Linked DNA regions of Homo sapiens: region 1 is linked to region 2. Evidence: promoter capture Hi-C in human tissues and cell types (Jung and others, 2019). All regions are on one chromosome and are shown on one strand. The core of a region is centred on a gene start or on the middle of the fragment in contact, and the rest is flanking DNA. Distances in the headings are between cores, read along the strand shown.

Region 1 (5,999 bases), core at 1,786-4,285, 540 kb before region 2:
TCTTACCACCTACGTTCGTGGGCCACTGGTACCAATTGTGCCAATTTTAGGCTGAGATGGAGTTAGGAGTACAAAACTGGTGAAGTGACATCTCTGAAAGGAAAAGGGAAAAGCAGGATTGAGCAGAGGAACGGTAGGATCTAACAAAGTCTCTAGCAGCCCACCAAAAAGCTCCAGAGCAGAGACTGCTTATTAGAGGGCTTTCGAGTTGGTAGAAATGACTAGGACTTTTTTTTTTCTTTCTGAGACAGGATCTTGCTCTGTCACCCAGGCTGGAGTGCAGTGGCATGATCAGGACTCACTGCAACCTCCGCCTCCCGAGCTCAAGCAATCCTTTCACCTCAGGAGCTAGGAATACAGGCGTGTGCCACCACGCTTGGCTAATTTTTTATTTTTTGGACAGACAGTCTCACTAGGTTGCCATGACTCGTCTTGAACTTCTGGGCTCAAGCAATCCTCCCACCTTAGCCTCCCAAAGTGCTGGAATTACAGCTGTGAGCCACTGCACCTGGCCTAAATGGCTAGGTCTTATACCACCACCTTGCTCAGTTATTGGCTGGGAATTGCCAGAAAAAAGCATGCTGTCAGCTACCACTGCCTTGCTCAGTTGTAGACTAGGTCCCTCTCTCCCACAGAATAGTGTGTCCTTATCTTGAAATCTGGCGTGGACCCTGAAGACGGTAACGGGGAGACTGTCGGCGAACCACACCCCTCACAGCTGGGCGGCTGGTACTTTCTTGAAGGTGAATTTGAGTGGCACACCTCACGTTGTCTGCCACCACTTCAAATCCTGAATAAAACTGACCATCCTTTGGCCACAGTAGCAATTAAGTACCAGAAACAATCAATGACAATTTCCCATCAGTAACCTCACCTCCAAACTAGGCTTCTAAATCATGCTAATCAGCAGCGGCCTCACTCTGGTAACTGCATCCCCACAACTAAAGCTCCCTCGACTCCTAAATGCTTTTGAAAGTCTGTTAATCCTTCCTAAAACCCTGCATAAGGTCCGCAGTTTTCTTTATCCGAGAGACCGTGCCCTACAAGAGCAGTGCTCTCTTGCTCAGCAAGCAGTGTGTGCAGCTTTTTGTTCTGGGTACTGAACGTGGCCTCTCCCTTTAACACTGTCACCTCTGCCCAAGATGCTCCCCTCACCTCTGCCCCTGGCTTTCATCTGACTCATCCTCGTCATTCAAGTCTCAACTGTCTCTTGAGAGGCCTTTGCTGACCACCTTATGTGATGTCCACCACACCCTACCTAACCACACTCTACCCCACTGCCCTATTCTGTTCTTCATCACACTTGCCAATTTCAAGCATCTTATTTGTGTTGAACTCCCTCACCCTCTAGAATGTAAACTCCATGAGGCCAGGGGCCTTGTCTGTGGTGTTCACAGTGGGAGGGTGAATGAAATAGTTAAGGAGGTGGAAAGATGTTGTTGGAGTTAGTGAAGAGGAAGTCAGTGATGAGGGGCTTGGGACACAGGTTTTCTTACCACCACCTCCCAGTCCTTAGCAGAGTGCTTGGAACATAGCAGGGACTCCCTACAATGAGTTAAAGAATGAATGAAAATACGTGACAGTTCAGGGAAATGTTTAGGGGAAAAAGCAAGATTTTTAGGGGGTTAAGTGGAGACCAGAAAGAAAGGAATGAATTCATTACATTTAAATGGAGTTACATGGAGTATTCTTGTGCAGTGGGGCAGTGGGAGGATGCAGGAGGGAAAGTAATACATACAACAGAGAATGTAATGGTGGCAGCCACAAAAGACAATTTGATTTTTGTGTCCAGCTGAATTTCACCTCTCCGGGCCTGACAGCCTAGGGGTTCCACACAAGATAAATAATTTTAACATTTTATTGATACTATCTGGAGGGGATATCATCCAACTGACACAAATCCAAGAAAAAAAAAAGGGAATATGATTGTGATGCAGTGAAGGAGGGAAGTGACATGAAATTTCCCTAGATCCTCACAGAAATAAAGACCACGATAGTTATGACCGATTTATATGTTTACAGACTACTGTCCTCTGTTACCTGTGTATGTAGATAAAACTTCAAGCATTAAAAAGGCACATTGGAAATAAGCTTAATTAATAGTAGTACTCTCAATAGAAGACACTAGACACGCACTTTACTTATAGGTCATGTTGATGTCTATGATAAACAGATGTTTTGCCTCTGACAGCAGAACTTCCTTTCATTTTTCTCATTCGTTTTCTTTGGTGGGTTCATTTTTTTGAATCAACCACACTTCATTATTTCTATTAAGCAATTTGACAGGACTGTTGTAGCCTGCAGTGTAGTAAACCTTCTCATCGAAAACTTTTCCATCTTCCCTTAAAATGCTTGCTAATGTCAAAAGTTGTTCTTGATTCTTTTGGGCACTAGAAAATCCATCGAAAGACCTACAAAGGAGAAAGGAAATAACCGTGAATGATTTTAATACTGATGTGAATGTCAGTCTGAAGCAAAAAGCGGGCGCTAGTACCGTGAATGCTGAGTGAAGTGCAGCTCCAAAGTTACTCCCTCTCGGCCAGGCGAGGTGGCTCACACCTGTAATCCCAGGACTTTGGGAGGCCAAGGTGGGCGGATCACTTGAGGTCAGGAGTTCAAGACCAGCCTGGCCAACATGGTAAAACCCCATCTCTAATAAAAATACAAAACTTAGCCAGATGTGGTGGCGGATGCCTGTAGTCCCAGTTACTTGGGAGGCTGAAGCAGGAGAATCGCTTGAACCTGGGAGGTGGAGGTTGCAGTGAGCCAAGATCACGCCACTGCACTCCAGCCTGGGCGACAGAGTGCAAGACTCTTTCTCAAAAAATAAAAATAAAAAAAGCTACTCCCTCTCAGCAGATGAACTGACCACTCCTGCCTGTGATTCCCAGTCTCCATGTGACCTCAGAAGCACTGAGGAAACCCAGGAGGATGCATCCCCTCCTTCCATCTGTTGACAGGTGGATTTGGAACCTACACAATCTCAAGTGCTCTACCCTGTGCTTCTCAAACCTTTAACGTGCATACAGGTCACCTGGGGATTTTGCTACGATGCAGATTCAGGTCTGGGGTGGGGCCTGAGAGTGTATTTCCTCCGAGCTCCCACATCCATGCCGGTGCTGCTGATCAGAGAACTACACCAACACCCCTGTAGAAGCCCCTTTTCCAGACTCGATTTTCACTTGCACATTGCCCCTTTTTCCCTCTCCTAAGGAAAAGAATAAACACTGGATTACAGATGAATATGATACAGTTTTCACCTCTCTGAATTTATGATCCAATGGAAGAGATCAACGTTCTGGCAGCTCTCTCTATACATCCTGAGGTTTTTTTGTTTGTTTGTTTTTTTGAGACAGAGTCTCACTCTGTCTGTTGCCCAGGCTGGAATATGGTGGCAGAGCATCCTTGACCTCCTGGGCTCAAGCAGTCCTCCCACCTCAGCCTCCCAAGTTGCTGGAACCACAGGTGCACATCGGACTAATTTTTTAAAAAACCTGTAGAGACAGGGTCTTACTGTGTTACCTAGGCTGGTCTCAAACTCCTGAGCTCGAGTGATCCACCTGCCTTGGCCTCCCAAAGCAATGGGATTATAGGCATAAGCCACCACGCCCGGCCTCTGAGAAGGGTTTTAAACAGGGACAGGATCAAAGTGTTGTGGGAGCGTTGAGGACCTGATTAAATCTGGGGTAAGGAGAATCATCTGAGTTGGGCCTGAATGGAGGATGGTTTTGCTGAACAAAGAAAGGGGAGTGATAGGAAAGAGACCATAAATCTAAAAATACCAAGTGTTTTCATAGTGAGGCATAAAATGAGGTCAGGAAGGTGAGTCAGAACTAGAAGGAAGAACCCTGTGCATTAGCCTAAGGCCTTTTGAGGTTATTTCCAAGGATGTTGAGCTGAAATGTGCAACTTGATAAGATCTGGATTAGAATATAGGCAGACATATAATAGACTGGTGAGGAAGGATCCAGTCAGGAGGCTGCTGTGGGGAAGTGGAAGAAAAGACAGTCAAAAGATTAAAACAAAAAGTGGGAAAAGAGAATAAAAGTTTAAGTATACATTCTACAGTATATAAACAAAAACATCCTGAGATTAAATCATGACAGCACTGACCTAGCTGAGCTGCTGACATGCAAGCATGATGAATTTGATTTTGAGGGTTAAGAATAAGAAACACTGAGAAACAAAACTTTTCCTAATATGCCTTCTTTGGTATAAGTTCTGTTATCAATGTGCCAGTGCAAAAAATCAATCCTACCACGCTTCAGCTGAGGTGTCATCTCTTTTAAGGGTACAAACCATGTCTGCTTTATATAACAATGTCTACCCAGCACCCAGAACCATTCCTGGCATGCAGTTCCCTTTTAATCCTGTCAAGTGTAGGAATCTCTGCATGCACATGTATGCAAAATAAAACACTGCAGGTGAGTTGATATAACTCTTCCATTCTATCATTTTCATGTCGATTGAATATAATTCTGAACCATGGGTTAAGAAACATTTTGGGCCAGGCATGGTGGCTCACGCCTGTAGTCTCAACACTTTGAGAAGCCAAGGCGGGTGGATCACCTGAGGTCAGGAGTTCCAGACCAGCCTGGCCAAGATGGTGAAACCCCGTCTCTACTAAAAATATAAAAATTAGCCAGGCATAGTGAGGAGGGGTGACTGTAATCCCAGCTACTCGGGAGGTTGAGGCAGATGAATCACTTTGAACCTGGGAGGCGGACATTGCAGTGAGCTGAGATTGCGCCATTGTATTCCAGCTTGCGCAACAAGAGTGAAACTCCATCTCAGAAAAAAAAAAAAAAAAAGAAAGAAACATTTTGGCTCTTAAATGTATTATTTATTTCCTTGATGAATAACCAATGCTTAGCATGTTCTGCCTAAAAGGAATTTGTTTTCAAATTCATTTTCCCTTAAAATCAAATACTGAACCCTCTAATTAGAAATAAGCTTTTGTTCTCTGACTGTGTGTTGTTTCACAATGATCTATTCACTGTTTTATTCAGAACACAGACAACATATATGGTGCTTGCCTCCCTCACCCCCACGTGCCTGCCTTGCCAGGGGCTGGAATATATGGACATAGTAACATGCTGTCATATTCTTGAAGAAATTTCCGTCTATAAATAAGCCACTATTACTTAGAAGAAGAAGAATAGAAGGGCCCCAGGACAGAGTACCTAGCTAGGTGGAGAAATTGAAGAAGGCATCACAGAAAAGGTGTCATTTGTCCTGTAGGGTGGCAATGGGCTCTCCAGGAAGAGGAAAAAGAGAGTACTAGAGCTAGGAATGCTTGATGCTCATGTTCCAAGTGTTTTACATAAATTAACTCATCCGATCTTCATGGCAACCCTATGAGATAGTAAGTATTATGATCACACGCATTTTAAAACAGGGAAATTTTAGCAAGGAAAAGTGGACTAACGTGCCTGAGGTCAAAGGTAACAAGATGTGGAAGAACATGGCATGTTACATGAAGGGTGAGAAGCCCAAGTGGTGGGAAGGGGAGCTGCTGAGACAGGGCTGGGCCAGGTCATATGTGGCACTGTGCACCGTGTGAACAATCTGAGCTTCCCTGGGGAGGCAAGAGGAATCCAACGGAGATTTTGGGCTTTTGTCATTGTGGTAAGAAAGATGACAGTTCCAGTGTGGAAGAGGAAAGGAAAAGACTGGTGGCAGGGAAGACGGCTTGCAGGCTACTGAAGTGAAATAGTCAAGAAATAATTCAGTTAAGATCAATCAACATCCCAGTATCTATTGGGAATGTCAGGCTTGTGCCAAGAACTGGGGTACACAAAGATGACTTAGTGCGGTCCCTAGAAGAGGAAGACCCGAGTAAGTCACAATGGTGATAGAGAGGAGGGAACAAAACCCTGAATCATTTTTGAGGTGAATGGGCCAGATTTGACAATCAATTGTCAGGAACATTGTGCTGATGGTGACTGTAAATTCCTTGCTCAGGAAGCTGTCTTGACTGTGCATGGTGGCTCATGCTT
Region 2 (6,186 bases), core at 1,963-4,462:
AACCTCCGCACCGGACTTCATATCAGAATAAGAAACAGACTAACAATAGGCTAGGCATGGTGGCTCATGCCTTTAATCCTGGCACTTTGGGAGGTCGAGGGAGGAGGATCACTTAAGCTCAGGAGTTTGAGACTAGCCTGGGCAACACGGTGAGACCTAGGTCTCTACGAAAACAAAAAATGAAAAACCGCAAAATAATAATAGAACAATAAATTCTATACTTCTAAGAACAGATATTGGAGCTCAATCATTTTAACTCAACTGCCAATGAAATTTTATCATCACCCTCCAGGTACCAACACAGAGGCAAGTCTGCCTGGCTTTTCACCCTGAAATCTTTAAGCATAATCAACTAGTAGAAGGAATGAAAATCTAGAAGTAGACAAGGAAAGAAGTTTCCACCAGGAGGCCACTCTGGCAAATGAAGGAGGAAAGGTGGCAAAGACCAGCATCTACAACCCATGCCAACAGCGCAGGATGATGCAAATTAACATGATGTAGGATCTCTCCAGTGTGGAACACTGTAAAAAGCCAGCTGTGATTTACTAGCCCTTAGTAGGGTGTCTGGCCACACTTCCTAATTTCCAAGAAGATGAAGAAGTTTTCAGAGCACAAAGACATTCCCTAGGAAATTTCACAGTGATTGTTAATTCCATTCCTGCAACATCTTATTTGCCAGGGCAACTTTCCAGTTAATAAAAATGTTAAACCTATGGAAGAGGGAGGAGAAGAAACCTAGATTTTAGGGTAGCTACTTCTGTGTGGGTCTAGACTCTCAACACCATTGATAAGGTGTTGAGATAATTCTTGTGGCCCACTCAAAGGAGAGAGGTTGGACTAGATGACCCATGGTTTCTCCTGAGGAGTTTTCTGGTGATAGTTTTAGATTGGGATTCTTAATCTGATTGCTGGGAAAGGCATAGTGGGAGTCATTCTCTGGATCAGATGGTGCTCTCTTTTGATGTCAGACGTCCTCTACAGGTGGAATTGGGCAAAATCATAGCAGGATAAAAATAACACATATACCTTTCCTTTGTGGCACAGCAAAAGTCTCTTTCACAATATCATCTATCCGTCCGTCCGTCCGTCCGTCCATCCATCCATCCATCCATCCATCCATCCATCCATCCATCTATCCATCCATCCACCCATCCACCCAACAAGCACTACCTGACCACCTACTGAAGGCCAATCACCATGCTTGATGATGGGACTAAAAGTCAAAGATGACCTTATTCCCTTCCCTGAAATTACACTACCACCTTAGTCTGCAGCTAAGGCAATGGAGTTACAGGTACTGCTCAGATCCCACAGCCATTCAGGGGCAAAGTTTTGCCTAGGAGCCAGGTCTTTCAATACCTGCCCCTTGCAATCCCACAACACCAAACCTGTGGCTACAGTGCCTGCCACAATCAGATGGAAAGAGATGGGCAGTAGGAAGATTTTAAACAAATGAGGTGTTATCTCTTTTTGCTTGCCTGACTCTTTTATTTTTCTCTTCTGAATCTAAAGATTTTTCACCAAAGATCTAAAATAGTGAGAGCTGTAAACCATAGGCAAGACATGCAAATGTCAATATCGGATACGCCAGTGTGATCTCATTGGTAGGGTTAGCCTTGCACAGCCTGTAAAACTGCCTCCTTAGAAATCAAAACCCACTGCCCAGATTTCCAGGTCTTGGACCACTCTACGCTTAAGATTAAAGAACAAATGTTTCAGATACGTTATAAGTGGCAAACAATGCAATATTACCCTTAACTTTTTTTTTTTTAACATTTGTTACCTCACTGTCTTATTTAAAGGTAGTTTCTCAACTTTTGTCACTAGGATTCCACAGAACTTCTCCGTTACTCAAACTCTTCTCCCCCTTGTTTTATTTTTCCACTCTGGGCAGACATTTTTGTCTGCATTGTGGAAATTGATGAATTATTTATCAACAAATACCTCATCCAAATTTGGGGATGTGCCTCTCCAAAAAATCAAAAATAGTACAAAGAATTGAAAAAAAAATCAAAGCAGCACCTTAAACAATGAGAATGAAGCATTCATTGGCTGCTCAATAATCTGGTACATTAAGGTTGCGGTCCAGAAGTCCCTTTAATTAACAATGGTTCTGCCAAAATGCTACCCTGAGACACTTGACCAGACTGGCTTTCCAAGGCAAGAAGATCTGAGGCGAGGAGAACCGAAAACAAAGCGGGCTCAAAAAGAGTTAAGCTCCTTCCTTACTTAATGCCACTGCTTTTCTGAGAGGCCAGGTGGCAGGATGTGGGACGACTCCAGCTGACAAAGACAGTCTAACCGTGGGGTAGGGGCTGGAGCAGGGGCCAGCGACCCACGTCTACATGCATACTTCTCTTACACTGCTGCTACTGGAAAAGCTGAACCCCGCGCCAGGACCCCAGCCCCCTGCAAGGACCCGTGAGCGTCTGGGAAGCTGTCTCTGGGACTGAAGCCCCCCACCTCCGCCGGGCTGGCGGCCACTGCGGTACCCTACGCCCCGTCGGGCTGGTCCTGCACAATTTGGGAAAAAGCCGCAGCGCTTCTGCAAGGTCTACGTGGCCATGAGCATGCAACGCTTGGCTCCAAAAAAGACACGAAAGGAGCAAAGCGCCAACGACCACCCGATCGGAGGGCCCGAGGGGCGCCTCTTCACCAGTCAGCTGCAGCTTAAGTTCCGTGCATTATCTGAAAGGAACAGCTGGCTGGAGGTATCCAGGGCTGTCACTCCAACCTCTGCAGCAGTGACCTCAACTCCCAGCACTTCAAAACCCAGACAGAAACGTCCAACAAACTCCCAGTCCAGGAGCGCTGCAAAACCAACGCCAGGTAGACGGTGCCAGCCCGGGGGTCGCTGCCCAACATGCACCCGCAGCCCTTGACTGCGGTGAGCCCGAGGCAGACGGCACGGGGAGGCGCGGCGGTTACCTCTCCGGGAGGCGCGGCGGTTACCTCTCCGGGAGGCGCGGCGGTTACCTCTCCGGGCCCCGCGATCCTTTCGCAAAGTCCCAAGTCCTGGTCAAGGCAGGAGCGCGCCGCAGGCGGGGGTCGGGGCAGGGACCGGGCGGAGGCGACGCTCCATGGACGCCTGGGGTCGGGCTCGCTCGCTGGCAGGGTCGGCTGGGGGTGTGATCTCTCTTGGCGGCCGCTCTCACCGCTCCGCCCCCGCGGGCTCCAAGCTCGCTTGGCCCGCCACGAAGACTGCAGACTGCGCAGTCTGCTTTGCCCCGTTTCAGTTGTATGCGGGTTGTAGGCCCGGGGATTTCCACGGGACTTTCCAAAGTCACGTGACTCTCTGGGTCGGGCTGCGAAGTGCGTCCAGCCGGCCGCCAGAGGGCGCAGGGGGCGAGGGGCGCGCGCGGCCTCCGCCCGACCGGGCCTGCGGGCCCCGCCCCGCCCCCTTTCCCTGCCCCGCCCCGCTGCCCCGCCCCGCCCGGTCCCTGCAGGCGCCCGGAGAAACTCCCTCGCCCCGCCCCGGGGTGTCCCCGCGTGAGTCACCTGGGCATTTCGGAAGCTGGGGTCACGTCACATCCATGTGGAAATCGCGGTGATGGGAACTGGAAATGAAATAGGTTCTTTTTCGCAGTTGTTTTTCTGCAGAAAATCATCAACTGTGGAGAAGAAGAAGGGAAATAAGAAAGAAAGAAAACCCTAAAAACCACCCTGGCGCCCGGGCCCGCAGGCCTCGGGCCGGCTCTGAAAAGTTTGGGCTGTGCACGTGATGAGCGCGTAGGCGGGAGCCCCAGACAGGACCCGGGCGGGCATTTCGAGAAAAAGCAGCGGTGACAGCCTTTGGTCCCCATCTCCATTGTTCCTGCCAGCTCTGGACCCCAGGCTGCATGAGACGTAGGTCCCAGGGGACACCCGACCCCGTGGCCCCAGTCTTAGGTAAACTTAGGAATCAGAACAACACTCACCCCTATGCCGCGCTTGCTCCATTTCCCCTTGTCTATTTCTGCTCACCAAGCATCCAGCTGACATTGCATTCAAAGCAGCATTTCAGCTTAGAAATCGCTTCTAGTCCATCACGGTGCTTGCCATGTGTCTCCAAGGCTTTATTAGGTGTGTTTTTAGTTGTCCTGATAATCAGTTCACCCCAGGGTGCTGATGGCTGATAATACTGGCGCTTCCCTCCCTACCCCCATGCGTTGCACAGGGAGGGTGAGTCATGTGGAGATGGATGCAGCCCCCTGGGCAGTGGGGGTGCAGGTGCTGTGCAGGGAGGAGTCTTAGGGCGTTTTTACTGTCTTACTGCCCTCTAAGCACGGGACCCTTTGGATCATTTACTAGATTGGCTAAACTAGAACCGGATGGAAATATTCTGTACTATGGTCCCCTTAATTACATTTAAGAATACTTGTCAGGCCATATATCACAGGTTTTTAATTAGAAAAGTATCCTCCTCTCGCCAGTAAGGACTTGCAGAGATGGGGGTGGGGGCTGGATGGAGGGTGGCACTTTTTTGGCAAAAAGAAGTTTGGAGCAGAGTGTCACTAGTGGCCTCTCTGAAGACTGGTCCTCGTCTTTTAAAACCGATGGCTGGAATTTCTTCCAGTTCCAAACCTCTTGTTATTTGTCCTCTCTTCTTGTTCACAAATGTGCTATCAACATTCAAACAATGGATAGTCAGCTATCCATTGTAAATGGACCTTGCTGGAGTCCAGGGCTAGCAGAAATGACAGGGTCTAAAATGACATTTATCAAGTACTTGCTATATGCTTATATATGCTTTTTATATGAAGGTTAAGAAGCTTGAGGCATTTGCCCAGTTTCCACAACCAAAAGGGGCAGAGTCGCCAGTGGCATTAAGCCTGTGTTACTCCAAAGCCCATAATGACCAGTCTTACTAGACCATTCCTCTCAGGAAAGATCCTGTGAGACAGGTACTCTTTTGGTGTCCTGTCTCCCAGCCTCTCAAAACAGCCAAACACGGACCTTAGACAGAATGCGGCTTCAGAGGTAGAAGGGTCTTGGTTTCACCTTCAGGAAACCTCCTGGGTTTCAGTTGAGCTGGCAGAAGAAGATCATGTATCTGAAAGACCCTGCATGGAATGTTAATCCTCACACCACTCTCCTGCTGGTGCTCCTTTGTAAACAGAGTTGGCCTGTTTCCTCTCATCTCTGGCTCCATGACTTCAATCCTCCTGCAGCTTCCACTGCCCCTATCTGGCTCATGTCTTGCTGTCTGGTGTCATGAACTGGGAGTGCAGTAAAGAGGAGTGACAAGCCTGAGGGGCCACGTTCATACCTGCCACTGCCAACTGTCCTGATGTAACTGCTTTGTCATCTTGCCTGCCAGGATTTGTGACAAGGTAATAGCAGTCAGATGCAGGAGTGGTCTATAGCCCTGGATTATGTTCGAACTCCACTTTCCATGATTCTACTGCTGGGCTTGTGAATTGCCACTCCCACCACCAGGCGGTCTTTACTGTCCTTTCCACCTTCTAAATCAGCGCTGTGTTGGGCTGTACCCTTGCCTTTTCCCCTTCTATTATGTAACACATGGACAAGACCAATGACAATTTTCTTGGTGAATCAGAAGGAAAGAAAAGAAGAGAAGGAGAGAGTATAGATGGAATGCCTTCTTATGAAAAAAAGGAGAAATACAATTTGGGGAGATTTGTTGAATAAGTTGAAACCAAAGAGATATAGAATGCTGAAAAGCCTTGAAGGAGATTTAATTTGAGCTATAGGCCTTGTCAAGATGGACAGAACTCTTTAAAGAAGAGAATATTTATTAACATTTAGTAGACACTTAGGAGAAAAAATATGTCTCCTTATTAGATGAAAAAGGAATTCTGATTATGTGAAATATTTTTGGAGAGTTCCTAAGTTACGTGCCATTTTGACACCAATGCTGGGGTTTATGGGTCATGAACTATGTAAAATGAGCACACATGACCTCTTGGAATTAAACGGTTCCCGTGAGACTGTGCTTGCAGCCTGTATCCCTGTACCATGCAGTAAAAAAGATGTGCTTGCCCAGATGGGGGGAGCAGGAAGAACCTGATGAAAGAGAGCACCACGTGTGACAAGTGAGAGGAGACCCTGCTGAGCTCAAACATATTTCATGAGCCTTTCTTAATCAAGAATCAGCAACAGTTGATTGGTTGTTGATTCTTTTTTTTTTTTTTGAGACGTCGTCTTGCTCTGTCGCCCAGGCTGGAGTGCAGTGGCGCGATCTCA

Evidence for each region. The method cuts DNA at HindIII sites, captures the fragments that hold promoters and counts their contacts. A contact is called where the count stands out against the background at its distance.
Region 1: a contact is called between a fragment that was not itself captured here and the fragment with the promoter of TNFAIP3 in region 2, in 1 of the 25 tissues and cell types used here (liver).

Annotation. Positions count from the first base shown.
Region 1 is chr6:138,409,292-138,415,290 of GRCh38, reverse strand. It overlaps HEBP2 (heme binding protein 2), which reads right to left. Exons shown (of 4, transcript NM_014320.3): 4 at 1-2,411. The coding sequence ends at 2,213. Among named protein-coding and RNA genes, the nearest start is that of HEBP2, 8.1 kb to the right of the region's middle. The HindIII fragment of the contact is 5,988 bases long and covers 42-5,999 here.
Region 2 is chr6:137,864,285-137,870,470 of GRCh38, reverse strand. It overlaps TNFAIP3 (TNF alpha induced protein 3), which reads right to left and starts at 3,212. Exons shown (of 9, transcript NM_001270508.2): 1 at 2,929-3,212. It overlaps WAKMAR2 (wound and keratinocyte migration associated lncRNA 2), which reads left to right and starts at 2,238. Exons shown (of 4, transcript NR_049793.1): 1 at 2,238-2,829; 2 at 3,587-3,888; 3 at 5,151-5,312. RefSeq lists silencers at 2,666-2,765, 2,906-3,075, 3,316-3,455 and an enhancer at 3,536-3,675. The HindIII fragment of the contact is 7,262 bases long and covers 1-5,825 here.